6 separate regions of the Homo sapiens genome follow, and regions 1, 2, 3, 4 and 5 are each linked to region 6. The links are contacts of gene promoters, found by promoter capture Hi-C in blood cells and fetal thymus (Javierre and others, 2016). All regions are on one chromosome and are shown on one strand. The core of a region is centred on a gene start or on the middle of the fragment in contact, and the rest is flanking DNA. Distances in the headings are between cores, read along the strand shown. Region 1 overlaps TDRD9 (tudor domain containing 9). Region 2 overlaps ASPG (asparaginase). Region 3 overlaps TDRD9 (tudor domain containing 9). Region 4 has its middle 21 kb from the start of ASPG. Region 5 overlaps TDRD9 (tudor domain containing 9). Region 6 holds the start of TMEM179 (transmembrane protein 179).

What was found. Contacts are between HindIII fragments. The CHiCAGO score rates a contact against its expected background, and 5 or more counts as called.
Region 1: a fragment that was not itself captured here is called in contact with the fragment with the promoter of TMEM179 in region 6 in 1 of 17 cell types (endothelial precursors); the score reaches 5.3 in endothelial precursors.
Region 2: a contact is called between a fragment that was not itself captured here and the fragment with the promoter of TMEM179 in region 6, in 12 of 17 cell types (M1 macrophages, non-activated CD4 T cells, naive CD8 T cells and 9 more). The highest score is 12.7, in M1 macrophages.
Region 3: a fragment that was not itself captured here is called in contact with the fragment with the promoter of TMEM179 in region 6 in 1 of 17 cell types (endothelial precursors); the score reaches 5.3 in endothelial precursors.
Region 4: a fragment that was not itself captured here is called in contact with the fragment with the promoter of TMEM179 in region 6 in 10 of 17 cell types (endothelial precursors, naive CD8 T cells, total CD8 T cells and 7 more); the score reaches 10.8 in endothelial precursors.
Region 5: a fragment that was not itself captured here is called in contact with the fragment with the promoter of TMEM179 in region 6 in 5 of 17 cell types (total B cells, total CD4 T cells, activated CD4 T cells and 2 more); the score reaches 7.3 in total B cells.

The regions. Positions count from the first base shown.
Region 1 is chr14:104,037,192-104,041,358 of GRCh38, reverse strand. TDRD9 (tudor domain containing 9) reads right to left here. Exons shown (of 36, transcript NM_153046.3): 33 at 1,025-1,163. Among named protein-coding and RNA genes, the nearest start is that of ASPG, 46 kb to the left of the region's middle. The HindIII fragment of the contact is 1,272 bases long and covers 765-2,036 here.
Region 2 is chr14:104,086,667-104,091,016 of GRCh38, reverse strand. The region is part of intron 1 of ASPG (asparaginase); the gene reads right to left. Among named protein-coding and RNA genes, the nearest start is that of ASPG, 3.1 kb to the right of the region's middle. The HindIII fragment of the contact is 178 bases long and covers 2,082-2,259 here.
Region 3 is chr14:103,944,577-103,948,410 of GRCh38, reverse strand. The region is part of intron 1 of TDRD9 (tudor domain containing 9); the gene reads right to left. Among named protein-coding and RNA genes, the nearest start is that of RD3L, 4.0 kb to the right of the region's middle. The HindIII fragment of the contact is 831 bases long and covers 1,946-2,776 here.
Region 4 is chr14:104,063,014-104,067,074 of GRCh38, reverse strand. No RefSeq gene overlaps it. Among named protein-coding and RNA genes, the nearest start is that of ASPG, 21 kb to the left of the region's middle. The HindIII fragment of the contact is 171 bases long and covers 2,049-2,219 here.
Region 5 is chr14:104,015,937-104,019,758 of GRCh38, reverse strand. It overlaps TDRD9 (tudor domain containing 9), which reads right to left. Exons shown (of 36, transcript NM_153046.3): 22 at 3,671-3,778; 23 at 1,567-1,667. Among named protein-coding and RNA genes, the nearest start is that of ASPG, 68 kb to the left of the region's middle. RefSeq lists an enhancer at 1,663-2,862. The HindIII fragment of the contact is 1,030 bases long and covers 933-1,962 here.
Region 6 is chr14:104,603,504-104,607,430 of GRCh38, reverse strand. It overlaps TMEM179 (transmembrane protein 179), which reads left to right and starts at 2,659. Exons shown (of 4, transcript NM_001286389.2): 1 at 2,659-2,994. The coding sequence starts at 2,690. The HindIII fragment of the contact is 15,381 bases long and covers 1-3,927 here.

The DNA of each region.
Region 1 (4,167 bases), core at 151-2,650, 560 kb after region 6:
TCACAGATTGTGCTTTGGGTGTTGTATTTATAAACTCATGCCACACCCAAAGTCACACAGATTTCCTGAATTTGCTTGTAGCACTTTAATAGTTTTACATTTTCCCATTAGGTCTATGGCTTAAGGAGTATTTTCAAGCCCATAAGCCCCTTCTTGTGACCAGGCAATTATGACTTAACAGTTGCAGAGACAACACTGATACCTGCCCCCGGAGCATCGGCAGCTGTCTCTGCAGCTCCTCCTTTCCCCCGGCCCTTCAGTGTGGTTATGTTAACCTCACCCGTCTCATGGAACTTCTAAGAAAGAAAGGCGACTGAGTACTTAGAAAGTAGCATTTCTCAAACTATTTGTGGTAAAGGATCAGTTTTGGTCTTCCCACTTTGTAAAATGCAATAAAAATAAATTACTATAACGATGAAAGATCTTTTTTAATGTACACAAATACGAGCCCACATTTCTATTATTAGATTCAAATGACATACAAATACTTTGTGTACTTGCTACACAGTTTCCCTGTCTGCCTTGCCACCTCACCCCAGAGCTAGTGCGGTGCCCAGACAATGCTGCAAGCAGCTCAGCTCTGCACTCACGCTGACCCAGCCCTCTGCTCAGCATGGTCACCAGGCCGGGAGAAGGGCAGAGGGGCAGGACCTTGTGTCCTCCTTTCCCAGTAAGAACTAGCAAGGATGTTCCACTTCCTGACTTGGAATGAGACCCACAGCAGCCCTACAGCCCCGTGGTTTAGCTGATTGCCCAGAAAAGCTTATGCCAGGAGACACCAAATGAGAGACTCAGAGAGCACCATCAGGAAGTTACTTTTCACAGGAAAGATACATCAAACTGGCAAGTTAAGGAGCGGTCCTCCTGGAGGGTGACTCCAGGAGGGACAAGGAACGTGCACATCTCCAGGACCAGAGGTGTGTGTCTGCACCGCGAGCTCCACAGCAGACCCTGCACTCACTGTCAGGTAAGCAAAACCAGAGAGAGACAGGGTTGTGGTGCCGTGATGCTGCACTACCCTTACCTCGACGACATCCTCCACGCTGAATTGAACGTCAAACGCAAGCTCCATGTCGTGCTCGGGCAGTATGGAAGCCCCTGTAGCTGGATTCCACCCCAAACCACAAAGGACTCCAGTATAGTACTTGCCATTCTGATCAATCCTAAATGGAATGTTTTCAGAAGAGTCCATTATTTCAGAATTGTTAAAGTATATGTTTTAGCATGTAAAAATTGACCGATAAAATTATCCTAAATTCTGCCAGCCCTAGTACAGCAATTAATTTCACTTGTGCATTTTTCTGCCAGTTTTCACAATCAAAATATAGTTATAAAATATAGTTATAAGAATAGTAAATTCAGTATTTTTATTAATACTTAATAATTTGTATTAATACTTTATTAAGTTTCTAATGTGGTAGATAAGATAATGAAAAGAATATTTTATCATGAATGGGTTTTTTTTTCCCTTGCCTTCGAATTCTTTCCATGGGTTAAATTCTTATTAGGGAGATTTCTGGAGAAAGGGCTATGTACATATTTATGACCTGTCAAACAAGTCTAGCACTTAGTAAAAGCCTAAAAAAATGTTCCACCTTCTCATCCTAAAACAATGGTGCACACTTACAAAGTTTTGTATCCCAGTTTTATCACCACCCTCCTCTGACCACTGGCACGTCCTGTCACCTTTATCACTCCCTAATAGCCTCTCCATGGCTGCGGCCAACAGCCTGGTCCAAGCCACTGCCATTTCTCACCTGGACTTGGTAACAACTTTCCGACCAATTCCCCATCTCTTACTCCTGCCTCTTCCAATCTTTTCTCCATATAGCACACAGGAGTAGCTTTTCAAAACAAATACAATGTTACTCCCTTGCCTAAGGCGTCTCAGTAGTTTCCAACCACACTGTGAATTACAGTGGGACCTAGAAGCCACAGTGGTCTAGCTGTGACTGTGACTACAGTAAAACTCACGCTGTGTGGCTTCTGCAGCTAGATTACAAAAGGTGACACAGGCCAGGTGATATGGTTAAGCTTTGTGTCTCCACCCAAATCTCATCCTAAATAATCCCCACGTGTCATGGGAGGGACCCTCTGGAAGGCAGTTAATCATGAGGGTGGTTAACCTCATGCTGTTCTCGTGATGGTGAGTGAATTCTCATGAAATCTCATGGTTTCGTAAGGGGCTTTTCTTTTCCCCCTTTTGCTCGGCACTTCTCCTTGCTGCCACCATGTGAAGAAGAACGTGTTTGCTTTCCCTTCCACCATGACTGTAAGTTTCCTGAAGCCTCCCTAGTCGTGCAGAACTGTGAGTCAATTAAACCTCTTTCCTTTATAATTTACCCAGTCTCGGGTATGTCTTTATTAGCAGTGTGAGAATGAACTAATATACTGGGCACGGTGGCTCACGCCTGTAATCCCAGCACTTTGGGAGGCTGAAGTGGGCAGATCACTTGAGGCCAAGAGTTTGAGACAAGCCTGGCCAACAGGGCGAAACCCCTTCTCTACTAAAAATACAAAAATTAGCCAGGTGTGGTGGTGCACACCTGTAATCTCAGCTACCTGGGAGGCAGAAGTGGGAGGATCACTTGGAGGCAGAGGTTGCAGTGAGCTGAGATGGCACCACTGCACTCCAGGCTGGGTGACAGAGTGAGACTCCAACTCAAAAAAACAAACAAAAAAACAGGGACAGCTGCCACCTGGCTCATTCTCAGGACCCTCAGCACCAACCCACCATGCTGAGGACACCCAAACTAGCCTACAGACAGATCACTTGTGGAAGTCCTCACTGAGAGCAACTGAGGTCTCTGGCAAGCAGCAACCACCAGATGTGAGCCTGGACACCCACCAGCCTCCAAATCCTTCAGCTGGAGGCCCCAACATTGGGAACACAACAAGCCATCCCTGTGTACCCTGACATAGTTCCTCACCCACAGAGGCAAAGAAGGTTGCTGTAGCCCACTGAAGTTTTGGGGTAGCTTGTTTTTAGCCACAGTAGCCAGAAAACCCAGTTAAACAGTGAGAGTCTTCTTTTAATCCACCCTCATTCAATTTTTTGTTTGTTTAATTTTTGTGGGTACATATAAGTGTAGATATTAATTTTTAGGTTTTAATTGATAGAACTTCTTGTTGTTGTTGTTTAAAGATCCCCCCACCCTCTCATGCCTGTTCAGAAGCACCATCTTCCCAGGGTTACAGCACTGCCCTCAACACGTGACTTAGCCTCTAAACCATGGCCAGCATTTGGCAGTCTCCCCAGTAGCAAAACCTGGCTCCAAGAACCAAGGGAAGGAGGTGAGTACAGTGTTCTTGTCACTACACCAATAAGAGCGTGTTCTCAGATGTCTGCTCCCATCCTGGAGGTGCCAGGCTCTGCTACCATGGAGCATTCTGCTCACCCAGGGAGGCGGGCTCCACAAGGTACACAATGATGATGCCACTGAATCCAGGCTGACACCATCAACTACTCCAACTGTTCAGGGAAAACACCTCGAGGACAGGGGCAGCAAGAGGAGTGACGCACTCCGGGGACAGATGTGTGGTGGATCAGCTCCACGATGAAGGGAAGAGGAAAGCTGGCACCAAGGCTCAGTCACCCTGAGTTATGGAGGGGCCAACTACAAGTGAAGGTCACATGGCAGAAAGAACAAAGGAGAGGAGACAAATGGCAGCTAGGTCAGTCCACAGCCAGTTGGCAAAGAAGGGGACAGTGGCCTCCACTTAGATGTCTCTGCTTATGAATGGGGCATAACACATATCTCCTTCCCCTTTTTAAATTGAAAATCAAGATAAAATTAAGTTTTCTGCTCATCTTCCTTTCCTGCCACTATTGTACAAAGAGTATGTTAGAGGTGGTAAAAAATTATCACTTAGTCGTAAAGTTGAATCAGTTGTGACAGGACAGTGACACATGTGGAGGGAGAACAGACTTTACCCAGAGACTGCAAGCTTCGCGTTTAACAAGGGGGGCCAGGACAGCCTCTAGTGCAGCAGCCAGACGCCACCCGAACAGGAGACGAGTCCCATGCGGGTGCGCATTAGAGAGGTGGCTCACAAAAGGAAGCAAACGGGCATGGGCGCATGGCGGGGCAGCGGCTCGCAGGAGCTGTGGGCTTTGGAGGACAGCTCCCCTCCGGAACACACCTAAGACACAGTGCTGGGACCCCT
Region 2 (4,350 bases), core at 921-3,420, 520 kb after region 6:
GCAGGTGCCTGTAATCCCAGCTACTTGGGAGGTTGAGGCGGGAGAATCACTTGAATCTGGCAGGCGGAGGTTGCAGTGAGCCAAGATCGCACCACTGCACTCCAGCCTGGGTGACAGAATGAGACTGTCTCAAAAAATTAAATAAATACATAAAAATTAAAAAGATGTCCACATCCCAATCCCCGGTACCTGTGGGTGTCACTTCATATGGAAGTGTCTTTACGGATGTGATATTAGGGGTCATGGGGCGGGAGGTGGCCCTGGACAATCCAGGTGGGCCCTAAACGCCCTCTCGTGTTTCCTCACAGGTGGAAGGCCACAGGGCACGGGGAGGGGAAGGCCATATGACGACAGGGCAGAGCGGCCCTTGGAGATGCTGGCCTGGATGACTGGAGTGATGCGGCCACAAGCCAAGGATTGCAGCAGCCACCAGACACTGGAGGTGGCAGGGGTGGCTCCTCCCGCAGAGCGTCAGGACGGAGCGGTGCCCTGCAGCACCTTGGCTCAGCCCGGGGAAACCCCTCTCAGGCCTCGGCCTCCAGAACCCAGAACGAACTTCTGTGATGTTCAGCCGCCCGGCACAGTGGCCACAGGAAACAAAAAGTCACTCTCCACTCATCACGGCGGGTGAAGCTGGGGTGCCTTATGGGAAAGGTGGAGGGGGCATATCTGGTTTGGTTTTGTGGGACATGCTCACGTTGTGCAAGGTCACCTCCAGCTGCTGCTGACTCATGTGGGGGAACAGCTTCCAGAAACTTCCAGGAATGCTGCAGAGTGGTAGGCGTGGATATGGGCCCTGCTGTCCCTGCTGGGGGCATGTGTGGGCACCACAGGCGAAATCAGCCAAAGACAAGACTAAACTCTCTTGGTGTCCTCTTCTCTCAAGCAAAACACTCCATATGTGCTTTTGCAGTGGTTTTTATGGCTCACACCTGTAATCCCAGAATTTTGGGAGGCTGATGCAGGAAGATCATTTGAGCCCAGGAGTTCAAAACCAGCCTGGCCAATTTCTTTCTTTTTTCTTTTTCTTCTCCTTTCTTCCTTTTTTTTTTTTTTTTTTTTTTTTTTTGAGGCAGAGTCTCACTCTGTTGCCCAGGCTGGAGTACAGTGATGCCATCTCGACTCACTGCAACCTCCACCCACCCGGCTCAAGCAATTCTCCTGCCTTAGCCTCCCGAGTAGCCGGGATTACAGGCATGCACCACCACACCTAGCTAATTTTTTATTTTTAGTAGAGACGGGGTTTCGCCATGTTAGCAAGGCAAGTGAACCACCCGCCTTGGCCTCCCAAAGTGTTGGAATTACAGGCCTGAGCCACCATGTCTGGCCAAACGTTCCTTTTTCAAACCTATACTGTCGCCAGTAAAGTTTTCTTACCAACCTGCGAGTGGACCACTTTCCAACTCTGGGGCTCCAGCACTCACCCCGCAGTCAATGTGTTGTACGTCAGCAGCCATTCTAACAGGTATGTAGTGGCATCAGTTTTTTTTGTTTGTTTGAGACAGGGTCTCACTCTGTCACTCAGGCTGGAGTGCAGTGGCGAGATCTCGGCTCACTGCAACCTCCACCTCCTGGGTTCAAGCGATTCTCATGCCTCAGCCTCCCCAGTAGCTGGGACCACAGGCATCTGCCACCACATCTGGCTAATTTTTTTTTTGTATTTTTAGTAGAGACAGGGTTTCACCATGTTGTCCATGGCTGGTCTTGAACTCCCGATCTCAAGTGATCCACCCACCTCAGCCTCCCAAAGTGCTGGGATTACAGGTGTGAGCCACCGCGCCCAGTCAGCTGGGGCAATTTCTTTTGTTATTTTAAATAAACACCAGCTTTCAGCCGGGCACGGTGGCGGGCGCCTGTAGTCCCAGCTACTCGGGAGGCTGAGGCAGGAGAATGGTGTGAACCCGGGAGGCAGAGCTTGCAGTGAGCTGAGATCGCGCCACTGCACTCCAGTCTGGGCGACAGAGTGAGACTCCATCTCAAAAAAATAAAAATAAATAAAAAATAAACAAACACCGGCTTTCACACCTAACTATGATTTTGTAACTTGTATTACTTTTCTCAATGAGGGCCCTCCAAAAGCTTCAAGGGCTGCAGAATCTGAACCCTCCAGCCCTGCCTGGAACCTCTTCCTTGGCCCATCCAGGCAGGTGCCTGAGTTTGCTGGTGACTTGGAAACTCCTCAGCCCCCTGCCAAACACCTGGAAAGGAGGCTTTGCTCTCTAAGACAATGGGCCCCACTGTCACCAGCGAAGTCAAGCTTAGGCTTAGAAACTTGTGAACGTGTAGCACCCATTCAGGAAGGAGGTCCAGGCCAAGGGCACAGACGCCACTGCAGTAACCAAGAAGCCATGGGCATCACTCCACTGACACTCTCGACTGCTGGGACCCGTGTGGTCACCGGGCAGGGAGCTTCTCTCAGCTGCCTGGCCCCAGATCTCTGCCCTCCCTGCTGTGCCTGCAAGGAGCCGGGCTCAGGAGGGACTTTGGGACAGGCCGGCAAGCAGGTGGGGTTCCCAGTTTGACATAGGAAGTCTTCAAGTTTCTCGGGTGTACAGAACGTGGCCACTGATGCCAGCTTGGGCTTGGGGTTATCAGCCGTGTTTGGATTCGCTATGCCCCTTGACCTGTGATAGCTTCAATGAACTCAGAGAAGGGATGGGTCAAGGGGCGTCCCCACTGGCATCACCTCTGCCCTCCCTGAACTCTGGCAGGGCTCCAGGTGTGCAGCGTTCCACCCACAGGTCACTGTTTACCAGCAGGCGCAGAAGCCGTTCCAACAGCGACAATCAAACAGCTTTACTAGGGCAAAGCCACCACTCCCCTCTCACCTCCCCAGGGAAGGCCAGAGCCCACGTCAGCAGTGTGGAGGGAGTAAATCATTGACGCCTGACAGTCTGGCTGCTCCAACCTCACGAGGGGTTGGGGGAGCCCATTCCTGCAGGTTCCTGGAAGTGGATGCCCCACATGGGTCAGCTAGCAACAGCTGGGGGTGACCTCGCAGCCACACGAGGACGGGCTGCTGAGCAGAAGCCAGGACCCCAGTGCACAGAGCACCAAGGGATCTCAGAAGGCTGCTTCAGGTCTGAAGACTGACGCCCCACACCCAATTTCCAGCCTCCAAGTCTCTTGTTTCCCACCCAGACACAGGACCTCACAGCCTCTTTCAGAAATGCGGTGCACGCGTGTGAGTGCACCCACAGGCTGCTGCGGCGAGCACGCGGGGGCCAAGCGAGACGGGTGTGTGGTGGGGTTACAGAGTCCACCTGCCCCTGCAGCTCGGACCACTCAAGAACTACATGTTGAGCTCAACGAAACTGCAGTTGGCCACACTCCAAGCCTGAAGGGGTAGCGTCAGGGGCGTCGGACGAGGCCCCACACAGAGTCCCCAGGTCCTGTCCCCACTCGGGGGCAGCTCTGGCAGGCTCCGGCCCTGCTGGGCTCCCCACTCCTCTTTCCTGCACCTTGCAGGGCTGCTCCTGGCCTGGCCCTCTCCCATCTTTGTCCTGCAGGCCTTGTGTCCTCAGAGAAGCCCTCCCTGGGCTGCCTCCAAACTCCACACCATCCACACACCCAGCTCAGACCCTGTTATCAGCCCACAGCCCCTACAGGGCCCTGGCAGATCCTGCCCCTGGGACTAGCTCCTTAATGCATGCCATCCCTTCAATGGCAGCCTCTCTCTCTAGCTTGTGAGGGCCAAGCACAGGAATTGTGTCACTCTGTGTCAGTGGAGTGTCACACAGGGGCGTTTGCCAAGCTGTGAATGACTTTGTTCCATTCACAGGCAGAAGGAGAAGTGCAGAGGAGGCTCCCGGCAGCCTGGACAGCCACGTTCTTGGGGACCTGAGTCCCTCGTGGACGAGCCCCACTAGGCTTTGTCTCCTGGGCTGGGCGCAGAGTGGGCCTCCAGAGGGGTCTGCACCGGCCACAGTGTGGTGGGTGGAATCTGAGAGCACCGACAGAGTGCTGGTGGCTTCTGAGCAGCCACTTCAGCAGAAAGGGGTGGCCAGGAGGGGCAGCTGCCAGGGAACAGGCCGTGAGAGGGGGTGGGGATAGGAGGGGCGGGGAAGTGGTTGGCAGATGGGCAAGGGACAAGAGAATGTTCTGGTCATGCCAGGGGAGGCCCTGGGCTCTGGCAGAGCCGGAGAGGGTCCCAGCCGTCCCAGGAGAGAGAGCTGCGCTGGACACAAGCAGGAGTGTGGGGAGGGGCCAGGGCAGCAGGGAGTGGGAGGAGGAGGAGTGGAAAGGGCTCCTGAGGGAAAGGCAGGCAGTGGCCCATGGAGGGTCGCAAACAGGTTCAAGACGGGGCGAGGGGGCTGTCCTGGCCCCAAGGGAGGCCCCACATCACAGCAG
Region 3 (3,834 bases), core at 1,112-3,611, 660 kb after region 6:
CCACCATTTTACATTCTCACCAACAGTACACAGGGGTTCCAATTTCTCCACATCCTCACCAACTCCTGTTTTGCCAATTTTGAATCAACTTTTTTGCCGGGTGCAATGACTCATGCCTATACTCCCAGCACTTTGGGAGGTGAAGGTGGGAGGATCACTTGAAACCAGGAGTTCAAGACCAGCCTGAGCAACATAGTAAGACCCTGTCTCTACAAAAAATAAAAAAAAAAAATAGCAGGCACGCTGCTGCACACCTATAGTCCCAACTACTTGGAAGGCTGAGGCAGAAGGATCCCTTAAGCCTAGGAGGTCGAGACTGCAGTGAGCTATGATTGCACCACTGCACTCCAGCCTAGGCAACAGAGTGAGACCCTCCCTCTTAAAAAAATAAAAATCTGTTTTTTTCTTGTTGCATTTTGGGAAATCTCTATACATTCTATGTATTAATCCCTTTTCAGATACATGATTTGCAAATATTTCTCCATCTTGTGAGCTGCCTTTTTACTGTTCAGTTTTTTGATATACAAATCTTTCAAGTCCAATTTGTCTTTCTTCTTTTGTTGCCTGTGCCTTTGGTGTCATATCCAAGAAATTATTGCCACATACGATGTGAAGTTTGTGCCCTCAGTTTTCCCCTAAGGGTTTTGCAGTTTTAGGTCTTACTTTTGAGCTTTAATCCATTTCAACTTAATTTTTGTATATGGTGTAAAGTAGTAATCCAATTTCATTTTTTTGCCTGTGGATTTCCACTATTCTCAGCATCATTTGCTGAAAAGACTGTCCTGGCCAGGCACGGTGGCTCATGCCTGTAATCCCAGCACTTTGGGAGGCCAAGGCGGGTGGATCACGAGGTCAGGAGATCCAGACCATCTGGCAAACACGGTGAAACCCCATCTCTACTAAAAATACAAAAAAATTAGCCGGGCGTGGTGGCGGGCGCCTGTAGTCCCAGCTACTCGGGAGGCTAAGGCAGGAGAATGGCATGAACCTGGGGGACAGAGCTTGCAGTGAGTAGAAATCGCCACTGCACTTCAGCCTGGGCGACAGAGAGAGACTCCATCTAAAAAAACAAAAAAAAACAAAAAAACAAAAAAAACAAAACAAACAAACAAACAAAAAAAACAAACTGTCCTTTTCCCCTTAATTGGTGTTGGCACCCTTACTGAAAATTATTGACCATGTATGTGAGGGTTTATTTCTGGGCTCTCTACTCCATTGGTCTATGCGTCTTTATGCCAATACCATACTGTTTTGATGATTGTAGCTTTGTAGTAATTTAAAAATCAGGAAATGTGAGTCTTCCAGCTTTGTACTTCTTTTTCAAGATTGTTTTGACTATTCAGGGTTCCTTGACATTCCATATGAATTTCAGGATGGATTTTTCCATTTATGAAAAAAAAGTCATTAGGATTTTGGCAGAGATTGCATTGAATCTGTAGATCACATCGTGTAGTACTGACATTTTAACAATATTGTCTTCCAATCCATGAATAGAGGATGTATTTCCATTTACTTATGTTTTTAATTTCTTTCAGCAATGTTTTGCACTTCTCATTGTCCAGACTTTCACTTCTTTGGTTAATCCCTGAGTATTTTATTCTTTTTGATGCTATTACCAATAGAATAGTTTTGTAATTTCCTTTTTAGATTGTTCATTGTTAGGGTATAGAAATGAGACTGAATTTTGTGTGTTAACTTTGTAGACTGCTACTTTGCTGAATTCAATTATTAGTTCTGACAGGTTTTTGTGGAATCTTTAGGGGTTTCTACATATAAAATTATATCATCTGCAAACAGAGATAATGTTACTTCTTCCTTTGTAATTTGGATGCATTTTATTTCTTAATCTTCCTTGATTGCTCTGGCTAGAAATTCTAGTACTAAGTTAAGTAAAAGTGGTGAAAGGCGGCAACCTCACCTTGTTCCTGATCTTAGAGGAAAAGCTTTCAATCTTCCATTGAGTATGATGTTAGCTGTGGGCTTTTCACATATGGCTTTTATTATGCTAGTAGTTTCCTTCTATTTCTAGTTTGTTGAGAGTTTTTAATATGAACAACTCCACAGAAATGTACTTTTTACCTTAAGAAAAATGAATCAATAACCCAGAACTTTTAATTCAGTAGCAAAATGAATTAAAAACAGGTTGGGCACAGTGGCTCATGCCTATAATCCCAGCACACTGGGAGGCTGAGGTGGGAGGATTGCTTGTACCCAGGAGTTCAGGACCAGCCTGGGCAACATGGTGAGTGAGACCCAGTCTCCACCAAACATTTAAAAATTAGTCAGGCATGGTGGCACGTGCCTATAGTCCCAGCTACTTGAGAGGCTGAGGTGGGAGAATCTCTTGAGCCCAGGAGGCTGAGGCTGCAGTGAGCTATGACCATGCCACTGTACTCTAGCCTAGGTGAGCAATACCTTGTCTCAAAAAAAGAAAAAAAAAAACAGAAAGATATGAGTCTTCCCACAATGAAAAATCCTTCTTTGATTGCAATCAAGTGCTGTTGAATACTATATAAAGCAGCCCTGATTGTAATATATAAAAAGTTATGTCTGGCTCCTTAGCTTGCTTTTCAAGGTTCCAAAATTTTGTCTTTCTAAACTTTTCTTTTTATGTACTTCCTTACAGATCTTAAAATTTTACATAGACACACATATATTATGCATGATACGGTCCTATTTCATTTTAAGTCTTATAAAATTTAATACTTAGCTAACAAGGTGTAAACTAGAAAACTATGACAATGACCAAAAAGCAAAGGACCTAACAGCTTAAGCTTTATGTCGTCCACACAAAATATCCTAGGAAGTTTGCAATTCATCAGAAACAATTCATTTTTTCAACTCATTATAATGTAAGATAAATACAATCCAAGATACTTCCTTACCTTTGCTTACAAATATTTATGTTCTCTATCTACACAGCAGTAGAAGAAATACTGTAATCAGAGAATTATTTGGGTCTCTACTTCAATCTGATAATCTCAGGAGACAGGACAAAATAAAATCTGTAAGGCAAGTAGCACACACTAAGTACTAGAAAAATTGGTTTACACAATTAACTTCAAAGGAAGGTATACTCAATGTGAGTTAAGGTGGTAAGAAAAGTTCTGAAAAGGTCTTTGGTAATGGTTTCAATGGCAAGAAAGGTGTCAAACAAGTAAGTGGAGAAGGAAGATTGCCTTCAAGAAGCTCTTCCAGTGGCTAGCTCATTGATCTCTAAATCTCTGTTAAAAGGATACCTCCTACCCAAAAAGGTCTTCTCTGACCTCCAGTTCTAAGTGGGAGAAGTGTTCCAAGTATATTAATAGATTATGACCATCTATAATTACCTTACTGATTTGTGTACTTATATTTGTCTTCACATTTGGAGGCTGGCTCCTTGGGAGTAGGAACTAGGTCTTTCTTGTTCACTGCTACACCCCAGCCCCTAACTATTCAGGCCCTGGCAGACAGTCAATAGATATCTGTTAAGTGACTGAAAGCCAGCAATTACAGTAGAGGACACAGCAGGATCTAATTGGAAAGCATTAGGAAAAAGGGAAAAGAAGCCGGGCACGGTGGCTCACGCCTGTAATCCCAGCACTTTGGGAGGCCAAGACGAACAGATCACTTGAAGTCAGGAGTTCAAGACCAGCTGGCCAACATGGCAAAACCCCATCTCTACTAAAAATACAAAAATTAGCTGAGTGTGGTGGTGCACGCCTGTAATCCCAGCTACGAGGGAGGCTGAGGCACAAGAATCACTTGAACTCAGGAGGCAGAGGTTGCAGTGAGCCAAGATCACGCCACTGCACTCCAGCCTGGGCGACAGAGCAAGACTCCATCTCAAAAAAA
Region 4 (4,061 bases), core at 885-3,384, 540 kb after region 6:
CTGCAGAAATTTGCATAAGATGAGCCAAATGTTAATTAATAGCCAAGACAATGGGAAAAATGCCTCCAGGGCACTTCAGAGACCTTCACTGCCGCACCCCCCATCACAGGCCTGGAGGACTAGGAGGGAAAAATGGTTTTGTGGGCCAGATCCAGGGCCCCACTGCTCTGTGCAGCCTCAGGCCATGGCACCCTGTGTCCCCGACACTCTCAGCTCCAGCCATGGCTAAAAGGGGCCAAGGTACAGCTCTGGCCATTGCTTCAGAGGGTGCAAGCCCCAAGCTTTGGTGGGTTCCACGTGGTGTTGGGCATGTGGGTACGCAGAAGACAAGAGTTGAGGGTTGGGAGCCTCCACTTAGATTTCAGAGAATGTATGGGAACACCTGGATGTCCAGGCAGAAGTCAGCCTGGGCTCCCATGCAGCCTGTAGGTGCACAGAAGTCAAGAATTGAGGTTTGGGATCTTCTGTCTAGATTTCAGAGGATGTATGCAAATGCCTGCATGTCTAGGTAGAGGTGTGCTGCAGGGGTGAAGCCCTCACGGAGAACCTACTAGGGCAGTGCAAAGGGGAAATGTGGGGTTGGAGCCTCCAGACGCGGTCCCCACTGGGGCACTGCCCTAGTGGAGCTGTGAGAAGAGTGTCCCCATCTGCCAGAACCCAGAATGGTAGATCCACCAACAGTTTGCACCATGTGCCTGGACAAGCGACAGGCACTCAATGCCAGGCTGTGAAAGCAGCTGCAGGTGCTGTACCCTGCAGAGCCACAGAGGCAGAGCGGCCCAAGGCCTTGGGAACCCACCCTTTGCATCAGTATGGCCTGCATGTGAGACATGGAGTAAAAAGAATCAATCATTTTGGAGCTTTAGGAATTTAATGACTGACCTGCTGGGTTTCAGACCTGCATAGAGCCTGTAGCCCCTGTTTTGGCCAATTTCTCCCTTTTGGAATGGGAGCATTTAACCAATCCCTGTACTCACATTGCATCTTGGAAGCAACTAACTTGTTTTTTATTTTACAGGCTCATAGGTGGAAGAGATTCGCCTTGTCTCAGATGAGATTTTGGACTTGGACTTTTGAGTTAAAGTTGGAATGAGTTAAGACTTTGAAGGACTTTTGGGAAGGCATAATTGGTTTTGAAATGTGAGAAGGACATGGGATGTGAGAGGGGCCAGGGGCAGAATGATATGGTTTGGCTCTGTGTCCCCATCCAAATCTCATGTTGAATTGTAATCCCCAGTGTTGGGAGAGGGACCTGATGGGAAGTGATTGGATCATGGGGGCAGATTTCCCCCTTGCTGTTCTTGTGATAGTGAGTTCTTATAAGATCTGGTTGTTTAAAAGTGTGTAGCACCTCCCCCTTCACTCTCTCTCTCCTGCTCCTCCATGTGAAGAAGGTGCTTGCATCCCCTTTGCCCTTCTACCATGACTGTAAGTTTCCTGAGGCCTCCCCAGCCATGCTTTCTGTGCAGCTGGCAGAATTGAGTCAATTAAACCTCTTTTCTTAATTACCCAGTCTCAGGTAGTTCTTTATAGCAGTGCGAGAACAGACTAATACACCTGCCATTTCTGACAAAGTGTGAGTTTAAAACATTTTTTCTCTTTTTTTTTTTTTTTTTTTTGAGATGGAGTTTCACTCTTGTTGCTCAGGCTGGAGTGCAATGGCGTGTAATCTCGGCTCACCACAAGCTCTGCCTCCCAGGTTCAAGCGATTCTCCTGTCTCAGCCTCCCAAGTAGCTGGGATTACAGGTATGTGCCACCACACCCGGCTAATTTTGTATTTTTAATAGAGACAGGGTTTCTCCATGTTGGTCAGGCTGGTCTTGAACTCCTGGCCTCAGGTGATCCGCCCACTTAAGTTTAAAACATATTAATCAGCATTATACGAATGATGAATTTTCACTGAAAAAGTATTTTCTTAAATGAATTTCACCAAGTCAGTATACTTCTTTGCTCAATTTTCTAAACAAAGTAGTTTCTACTTTTTATATTTTCTTTTTAAAATTTCCTAAAAGATTTTTCATCAGGTTAATTATCTTCCAGACAAGCTTTGGGGAGGCAAGTTCTGCCTATGTGTTTTTTGGTGAGAGCATCTGTGTACGGATTATCTTTGGGAGCCATTATTTTCCTGGGTCAAATTTTACAAAGATGGCTGTTCTCTCCATTTTTAGACAGTAACCACTGTCACTGGCTGTGGTTTTAGGATTATTCCTGTCAAGCTTACTTTTCCCCAGATAAATTCTAACCGTTTTCAATGTCACCATTAAATGTAATTCTTCAGCTTTCTATAATACATGTTATCATTGTCTGCTGTATTTTGTGTTTTCTACCAACTGCGTTTACTAGGAATGATATCAACGACGGGGCTGTATCTACCTCCTGGGTAAGCCATAAGAGGGTTGCACCAAGTACCGAGGACAAGGTGGTGAAGTGCCCTTCAGCAGAGCTGAAGACAAGGAGACAAGCTGAGGCCCAGTGGACCACCTGCCTCCCACTCCCTTGGCAAAACAAAACCAACAAAAACACTAAACCTGCCAGTCAGTGCCTGGCAGGAGATGGGGTTCACTCTACAGAAAAACAATAAGCATACATAAAAAGAAGGAAATCTTGTCATTTGTGACACCATGGATGAATGTGGAGAACATTAAGTTGGATGAAATAGGCACAGAGAGACAAATCCTGCATGATCTCACTCACATGCGGAACCTACAACAGCTGATCTCATAGGCAGACAGAGTAGAATGGCGGTTACCAGAGCTTGGGCGGTTGCAGGGAGTCCAACGGGGAAAGATGTTGGTCAACAGATAATATATAATTACAAGGGGCGGGACGTCCAGAACAGGCATGTATATAGAGACAGAACAGGCAAAATACAAAGACAAAGCAGATAAGTGATTGCCTGGGGACAAGGGTGAGGCTGGGGCGGGGAAAGCGTGGAGTAGGGAGAAACTGGGATGACCTCAAATGGTTCCAGAGATTCTTTCTCGAGTGATGAAAATGCTCTAACGTTGATTGTGGAGATGGCTGCAGAACACTGTGAACATACTAAAATCACTGGACAGGACACTTTTAAATAGGTGAATTATATGGTATATGAATTATATCTCAATAAAGCTGTTTTTTTTTTTTTAAGAAGGAAAACAGTGTGAAGGATCTGGCTTCAAAAATACCAGGTTCTGCACCACTGAGTTCTTCTCACTGGCTAGTATTAATCTCTAAAGAAAGCTGTGGTACTCACTCTTCCACAACTTCACTGCTAAGTTATTACCACCACCAAGAAAAAGCATCCGGCCAAATAAAGAAATCAAACATCTTAGTGGTTCTGGACACTTCAGGAAGTCCCAGCACCCAGACCTCCACATACTCCCTTGTCTCCTGGCAGGGAAGGGTTTCTAAAGATGGACATCAAAAGACGAGAGGCAGGATTCTGTCCCCCACTGGAGTGACGGCGTACAGACTTTAGGGCAGCACACACCACGTGGCTGTGGTGTATAATCCTTCTAATGTGCTGTTGGATTTGGTTGCTAGCATTTTGCTAAGGATTTGTGAATTTACATTCATAAAAGTATCGGTTTGGCCGGACGCAGTGGCTCATGCCTGTAATCCCAGCAATTTCAGAGGCCAAAGCAGGTGGATCACAGATCAGGAGTTCAAGACCAGCCTGGCCAACATGGTGAAACCTCGTCTCTACTAAAAATACAAAAATTAGCTGGGTGTGGTGACACGTACCTGTAGTCCCAGCTACTCAGGAGGCCGAAGCAGAATTGCTTGAACCTGGGAGGCAGAGGTTGAAGTAAGCCAAGATCGTGCCACTGCACTCCAGCCTGGGCAACAGAGTAAGACTCTGTCTCAAAATATAAATATAAATATATATAAATGTATATTATATATATATATATATATATATATATATATATATATCGGTCTGTAGTTTTCTTGCAGTATCTTTGGCTTTGGTATCAGGGTAGTGCTGGCCTCACAGAATGTGTTAGGAAGTGTCCCTTCTGTTCATTTTTTGGAAGAGTTTGAGCAGGATTGGAGTTAATTCTTCTTTAATGTTTCA
Region 5 (3,822 bases), core at 198-2,697, 590 kb after region 6:
TTATGGGAGAACATGATATGCCCAGGTACCACCTGTGCCCATCTGCCCATGCGCCCTTGGCACCTCACAGAGTCTACATGAAGTCACCCCTGCTCTATGCCAAAAGAAATACACTTCTTATTCTTTCAATCACTGTAACTTCCTTTGCCTTTAAATACTTGAATCCCAAGAACTGGTACTGGTACAGAAAGAATACTGTTACTTCCCCCAAAAAATTGGTATGACATTTGTATTATGACTTGAGAGCTGGAAATATGAGGAATGCAAAAGATATAAACACCTATAAAAAAGGTCCCAGGCAATGGGAGGCGGAGGTTGCAGTGAGCCGAGATTGTGCCACTGCACTCCAGCCTGATGACAGAGCAAGACTCTGTCTCAAAAATAAATAAATAAAAATAATAAAACAAAAAAAAGTCCCAGGCAAGAAGAACAGGCAACAAACACAGAACCCAATCCAGTTGTAAAGAAGAGGGAACAAAGATGCTGCAATCTTCTGGGAGCCAAGCCTTCTGACCACTCAAATCAGTCAAAGGAGCATCCATGCAGAACTGGAAGCTCACCCAGGTAAGCAGACGCACACTATTCAGGAATGAGTTTAGCTGTGTGATTCCAGCTTTAAGTAAGTTACTTTATATATGTGACTAAGAATCTTACTATAATTTACATCAGAATATTTAAGAAAAGTTCAGACACTACAAGTTTAATTAATTCTCTAAGAGTTGTTCAAAGCACTTAGGAAGGTTTTGCTTATTAGGGAGTTGTGTGTTTGCCTCATGAAGCATTTACAGGCCTACAAAGAAAATCAATATATTAATCATAGAAATGGAACTTAAAATGCCGGAGGGAATTACCCCAAATTGAAAATGGACTTAATGTTCAACTTGAGTGAACTGGACATTAAAGAAAAAGTGTTTGTTCTTATTTACAAAGCTTTGTAAAGTTAAATAAAAATTTATACAACATTCACAGAACACTGGAAAAAATTTCTAACTTTAAAAATTAAAAATCCTACTTTAGGCTTTTTGGTACATAAACATTTCCTGTTAGAAATAAAAACTCAGTGATGCTCCAAAACACACATTTGTTCCTTACATGCAGTAAGTAGAGCCAAATTGAGTTTTTACAATGTTTGCCTTCCAAAAATATTCAAAACATATCTGCTTTAGACAACTATAAGCAGATACACTCTATTTTGGATCACCTTCATGGCCCACAAAATAACTCTTACTAATGACTCACTGAGAAAATCTCAGACCAGTGCGTGAAAGTGAAGATCACTTTAAGAGAATCCGCCTTAGCATCACACTGAGTTACTGAGCCTTCTTGGAGTGACCATGCTTGACCACTAACCAGCAGCTTAGTTCCTTTAGGAGGTCACTTAGCAGAAAGAGAAGACAAATTGCTTCTGACCATAAGATAAACCAAAGCTACATTCTGAAAGCCAATTGCAGCAGCCCATAGGAGGACCCATTTCCATGGGCACTCCGTTTTAACAATCAGCGTCTGGAAACATTTGAATCATTATGCCTCCTTCATAATTGCAGTTGATTACAAAAATATACTTACTTTGCACCATCAAATACAATGGATTTGACTTGACCACACTGTCTAAAGAGAGACTGTAGTTGTTTATAGTAAAGAAATCCATAGGGAGGAATGTGTTTCAACTGTAAAATATAACACAAAATCAGAGCAGATTACTAGAGCTAACAAAATAGTTTCAACATTCACAAGCTCAAAGCTGCTGCACACTGTTTTAGTTTCTAAAAACATAGTTTACTATCTTTAACCATAATATATAAACTCTACAGATCAGTGCATTTAAAGACTTTTAAATTCTAACTAAGTTCTATAATAAATATGTTAAATAAAGGCTAATTCTAACCCTGTTAAAATGGTGTAAGTCTAATACAGCAAAATTAAGATTTGTTTACTTCTGTTTTCCCTTAAAATAATCAAGCTTACTAAATACTTCTTTTCAAAACATATTTCTACATAAGGAATAATGGGAATGTAAACTTTAAAGGAAAATGTCTAACTAATGAGAGGAATATGTATTTCCTCATCACCACAGTGGAAAGACCAAATAGCACATGATCAAATTGGCAGTGACTTTTAATGTATAAACTCTCAAGGTACCATGCTGGGTTTCTGCAAAGCACTCCATACTTTCTTCTGGACCAGGACAACTCCTGTGCCAGCGCAGCTCTGCACGGGGCTCCGTGACAGAAGGCATGTAAGTGAAGGCATGGGCTGGGGCTCAGATCCAGTTAGATCCTGTCTCCTCACTCCCTGAATCCGCGTGTCTCCTTAGGCAAGTTACAGAGTTACCCTGAGACCCAACTGCCACATCATGAAATAAGAATGACATGAGAAATCCCCAACTCAAAGGGTGGAGTGAGGCTCAGAGAAGAATGAAAAGTACCTAACACACAGCCTCTCAAGTGCTAAGTAAAGCCAGCTATTATTGAGCTTTTATGATGTACACACTAGGTAATTTTGGGCCCCCAGACTAGGCTCTCTGTGGTCGAGGGATGCAGGCATAGCTACTAGACGTCTGAGGAAGAGACCTATAGAACCCTTCCTCTTGCGCACAGCTGAGGGAAGAAAACCACGAAGGGGCAGAGGGGTGAGAGAGGAAGCCAAGCAAAGAGCTTAGTCAAACCTGATGGCCAGCAGGAGCAGAGGTGCCAATCAAATGATCCTCAGTAGCTATAAAAAACTAATGACTTCCTTTTAAAGTCCCTTCCACGGGTATCAAGTGTATCTCAGCTGCCTCTCTCATCTCCAGAGCACCAGCTCCTTTTGGTGCTCATCAAAGACCTCCAGTTGTAATCTCAAGTCATCTGCGCCCTTTCCTTATGAGCTATTTATTTCTTCAGGACTAACAGTGGTGGTGTAACAATAACCAGGATAAAATCTGGCAATGACTGAGCCCTTACGATATGACACGAAGGAACTTCAAGCGCTTCTCACCCCGCCTTATCAGATACAGGCACATACTGGAACCAAGTGATCCAAAACAGTCCAGTCTCAGCTTTCTTCCAGTGTGAGTCTCCCTGCTGCTGGGCTTTAAACAACTGGGTTGCAAACGCTGATTCAATGGTCAGGGCCTGTGGCTGATCATTAGATATGCCCAAAGTACACACTACTTGAATGCTGATTTCTAGGGCATACTTTCTAGCTCAGATCTCGCAGAGCCTTCAGATCTGAATTTCAACGAATATAAATAAAATAAGCACTCTCCAGGTAGTTCTGTTGGGCATCCAGGTCGGGGGGTCACTGGCTTAAGCCACAGCACTCAGCTGCCAACCAATAACATTTTATTTTGTATGAAATGAAGTTGTGAATTAAGAAAATGTTCTTAAACTTGTAAGTGCCTTAAATCCTTCAAAATAGCACATGATCAAATCAGCATTGACCTTGAACGTATAAACTCTCAAGGCTTCCTTATAAGGCCAGGTCTGTAAAAGGAGGCAAGAGACTGAGGGACAAGTAGATACACATGAAAAGGCCAAACAAGCCTAGATACACCTGAAAAGGCCAAACAAGCCTAATATTCACGCCAGGGGAAAATTCACTTAGGACTCACAAGAATAGAAACAATTAGAGAACAAAAATGTTCTGCCCCACCACACCCCAGAGAGGACGGCCTGCCCCCAGCACCTACCACGACAGTTGTCTTGGGGTCCTTGCCAGCCAGCTCCCTCACCGCCATCTCCTCATCCGGCTGTCCAAAAGTAAAGTAATTTGGATAGAAAGCACCTGCCAATACAACCTGAAAAAGAAATTTATTTTCATGAAGTAACAGCATTATTTTAT
Region 6 (3,927 bases), core at 1,410-3,909:
CAAACATTCAAACTATAGCAGTGACCTCATCCAACCAGTTGAAGGCCTGAATAGAACCAAAGACTGACCCCACCTCCCAATCCCCCTCCCCCCACCAGTAAGAGGGAGTTCTGCAGCCACGACATTGAACCACAACATTGACTTTTCCTGGGTCTCCAGCCTGCTGGCCCACCCTGCAGATTCGAGACTTACCAGTCTCCAAAATCACATGAGCCAGTTCTTTAAAATAAATCTCTCTCTTTCTCTCTTTCTCCATCTTATTGGTTCTGTTTCTCTGGAGAACCCTGACTAATACAAACAAGATAAGTCTTTGATTTTTGAAGGTAAGTGGAACTAATCACAGACATGCCAGAGTCTCGCACCTTTGACCTTTGAAAATGGCAGATATTTAATCATCTTTCCAGCCTAGTCTGCGGTTTCCAGTGCTGGCGGTTCCCTGTCAGTTGTCATGGTCTCCTTCATGTTGGCCAGAGTCTGGAAGTGTAACACCCCCAGATGTGTTCAAATTGGTCCAACTGCTGGATAATGAGTGGATGGAACTTCCACTCTTGCCCAAGTTAGGGGAGGGGGTGAATTTCCTGAGTGAGCTCCCTTTGGGGAGAATTGGGGATACTCCAAGAGTGGTAAAAACCCTGAGTGGATTCTCCAAGAGAAGAGTGGCCGTTGCTGACCTCGTGGCTGGCCTTCAAGGCCCGACTTTAAAGTGACTGCAAAATGAAATGCAATCCACAGAAGAGAAGAAGTTGCAAATGGTGGCAAGCGTAAGAAGATATGCTCAGCCTCATGATGCCAAAGCAAGTCCAAGTTCACACAGCAATGAGCGCATTCTGTGGAAACTGGCAGGATTTGCCTACAACTGCTGTTTCTCAGCCAGCGAGGGGAGGGGTCTACAACCCAGATGTGAGGGTAAATTTGAACAACATTTTAATTTTTTTATTTTTATTTTTATTTTTTTTGAGACCAAGTCTCGCTCTGTCGCCCAAGCTGGAGTGTAGTGGCGTGATCTCGGCTCACTGCAACCTCTGCCTCCCAGGTTCAAGCGATTCTCATGTCTCGCCCTCCCGAGTAGCTGGGACTACAGGCACCCGCCACCACACCCGGCTGATTTTTTTGTATTTTTAGTAGAGACGGGGTTTCACCATGTTAGCCAGGATGGTCTCGATCTCCTGACCTCGTGATCCACCCGCCTCGCCCTCCCAAAGTGCTGAGATTACAGGCGTGAGCCACCGCGCCCGGCTGAACAACATTTTTAAAGCCGGTTTGGCAATTTCTGTCAACATTTTAAATGTGCATACCCCATGACCCAGCAATTCCTCTTCTAAGAATTTCTCTTATAAAAATGCCTGTGCAAGAACGCAAACATATGTGTACAAGAATGTTCACATGACAGCATTTGAGACAGCAAAAACTGGAGACACAAAACATCCACCTTAAGAGGAATAGTTATGCAGATTGTGGAATCATCATTATAATGGAGTCTTATGCAGTTATTAAAAAGAACAAAATAGGTGTATGTGTAGGCAGGGAATAATCTCCTTGACATTTTGTTGAATAAAAGAATCAGCCTTCAGAAAACTATGTATGGTATGAAGCATTTTTGTTAATTCTGTGTGTGTGCTTATGTGCTTAGCAAAATGTCTAGAAAAATAGATGCCAGGCTATTGAAGTGGTCACCCCTGGTAGTGTGATGGGGTAGGGGAGGGGGATGAGGAGAAGGCTTTCTATTTTATTGTATACATATCTCTATTACTTGACTTAAGAAATGAGCATATATTACTTAGTCAATAAAACAAAAATATTTTTTAATGCTTGCAACAAAAATGCTGATGGAATTTTAAACCAGGAGGAGCAATGTTAAGGCTTCCTCACTCTGGGAATTGGACTAAAGGTGACTTAGTCTTAAAGGCAACTAGAAAAGGCATTAATTCTATTAATTAATGCCTCAGCGATTTCCATCTCAGCAAAGATGTCTTAATGAGGCGCTCGGGACACCCATTATTTATCTTACAAATGCAGCTCCAGGGTCCTGCCCATGTCAGGCAGTGTAACACACGTCCCCGCGGAGGGCTGGCGCTGCAGAAGCTCCCGGTCCACCCCCTCCTGCCCACACCTGGCCTCACCCTCCCCATCTCTTCGAGGATGACCTCTGTCCCAGTCCCTTGGACCCCGACTCCTCCACGATCTGGCCCCTCCCCTCATACATTGCATTTCGGGACCCCCGCAAAGGAATCACTTCAGCCTGGACTGCAAACCGCACTCCTACACCTCACTATGAGCACCTTGGGGGTGTCCTCCAACACCCCCCGCCCCGCCCTCTCTCTCCTGGTCTCCTTTCGTTCGAGCTGATGAGGAACTGACGACCCAGAGTCGGCCTGTGTGAGGCCCGTACAGGTGGCTCCCGAAGTCTTTAGCGGCACAGGGTCGGTCCCTCCAGGCCGACCTGGTAAAATTCCCGCATCTCCCGCAGGCCGCCCTTCTCTGGCCCCTGGACCCCGGGCTCCTGGCCCGCGCGCACCAGGAGCTGTCCGCGGTGCTGACCGCAGGCGCTTCCCGCGCTCGGCCGATGCGCACGCGTCCCGGGAGGGGCGCGCGGGACCTGCCGGCGCCGCCACTGCGCAGCCTCCCGCGGCCTCCCCGCCCGGCGCAGCCTCCCGCGGCCTTCCCGCCGCCGCTCTCGCCCGGGCCGGCCATGGCGCTCAACAATTTCCTTTTCGCTCAGTGCGCCTGCTACTTCTTGGCCTTCCTGTTCAGCTTCGTGGTGGTGGTCCCGCTGTCCGAGAACGGCCACGACTTCCGCGGCCGCTGCCTGCTCTTCACCGAGGGCATGTGGCTGAGCGCCAACCTCACGGTGCAGGAGCGCGAGCGCTTCACGGTGCAGGAGTGGGGCCCGCCGGCCGCCTGCCGCTTCAGCCTGCTCGCCAGCCTCCTGTCTCTGCTGCTGGCCGCCGCGCACGCCTGGCGCACGCTCTTCTTCCTCTGCAAGGGACACGAGGGGTAAGTGGGGGCCGCTCCCGGCGCGGCGCCCCTTCCATGCCCCCAGCGCCCCCAGACCCACCTCCCCGGGGAGGCGCGCGAGTCCCTCCGTCTCTCAGGCAGCTCCGAGGCCCGCAAATGTCAACAATCCGCCCTCACCCCCTCCACTCAGACCGCCCTTTGTCTACACACACATCCAGGGACCATGACGACCACCGGTCCTGCGTACAAGGCCAGTGCCTCCCCTCCCCAGCTGCGCATCACCTCCCGCTTCCGGGCATCTGCTCCCTTGGGTTGCAGATGTTGCACTGTCATCACCCAGCAGGCCTGGACCTTCCTGGGCGGGCTCAGCCGGGCCACACTCGCCAGGACCGGCGACAACTCCCAGCCCGGTCTAGGGCTTGCACTGAGCTCTCCAGGTCCCAGTGACAAGGCGAACTGGGGAGCCCCACCCGGCACCATCGCCCCGGGAAAGGGACGGCAGATGGCTGTCTGGAGGGGAGCCACCCAGGCCCACCTCGAGCTCAGGCCTTGGATGGGGAGCTGGAGAGAGACTGCAGGGCGAGGGCTGTGCCTTGTGGGCTCAGCGCCTTCCTCCTCCTGGCCTGCATTTTCCTCTTTCTCTTTCCTGCTCCGGCTAGATACTGGAGCCCATACAACCTGGTTCACCTGGGGTGCGGTGACACCCTTAGCCAGTGGCACCCTGGGGGCCCTCTGGGGGCCCACCCACTCCCTCTGCAGGTGCTCTCTGTGAACCCTCCCACTCCCTCTGTGAGCCCACCCACTCCCTCTGTGAACCCACCCTCTCCCTCTGTGGGTGCCCTCTGTGAGCCCATCTACCACCTCTGTGAATCCACCCACCCCCTCTGTGAACCCACCCACCCCCTCTGTGAGCCCACCCACCCCCTCTGTGAGCCCACCCACTCCCTCTGTGAACCCACCCACTCCCTCTGT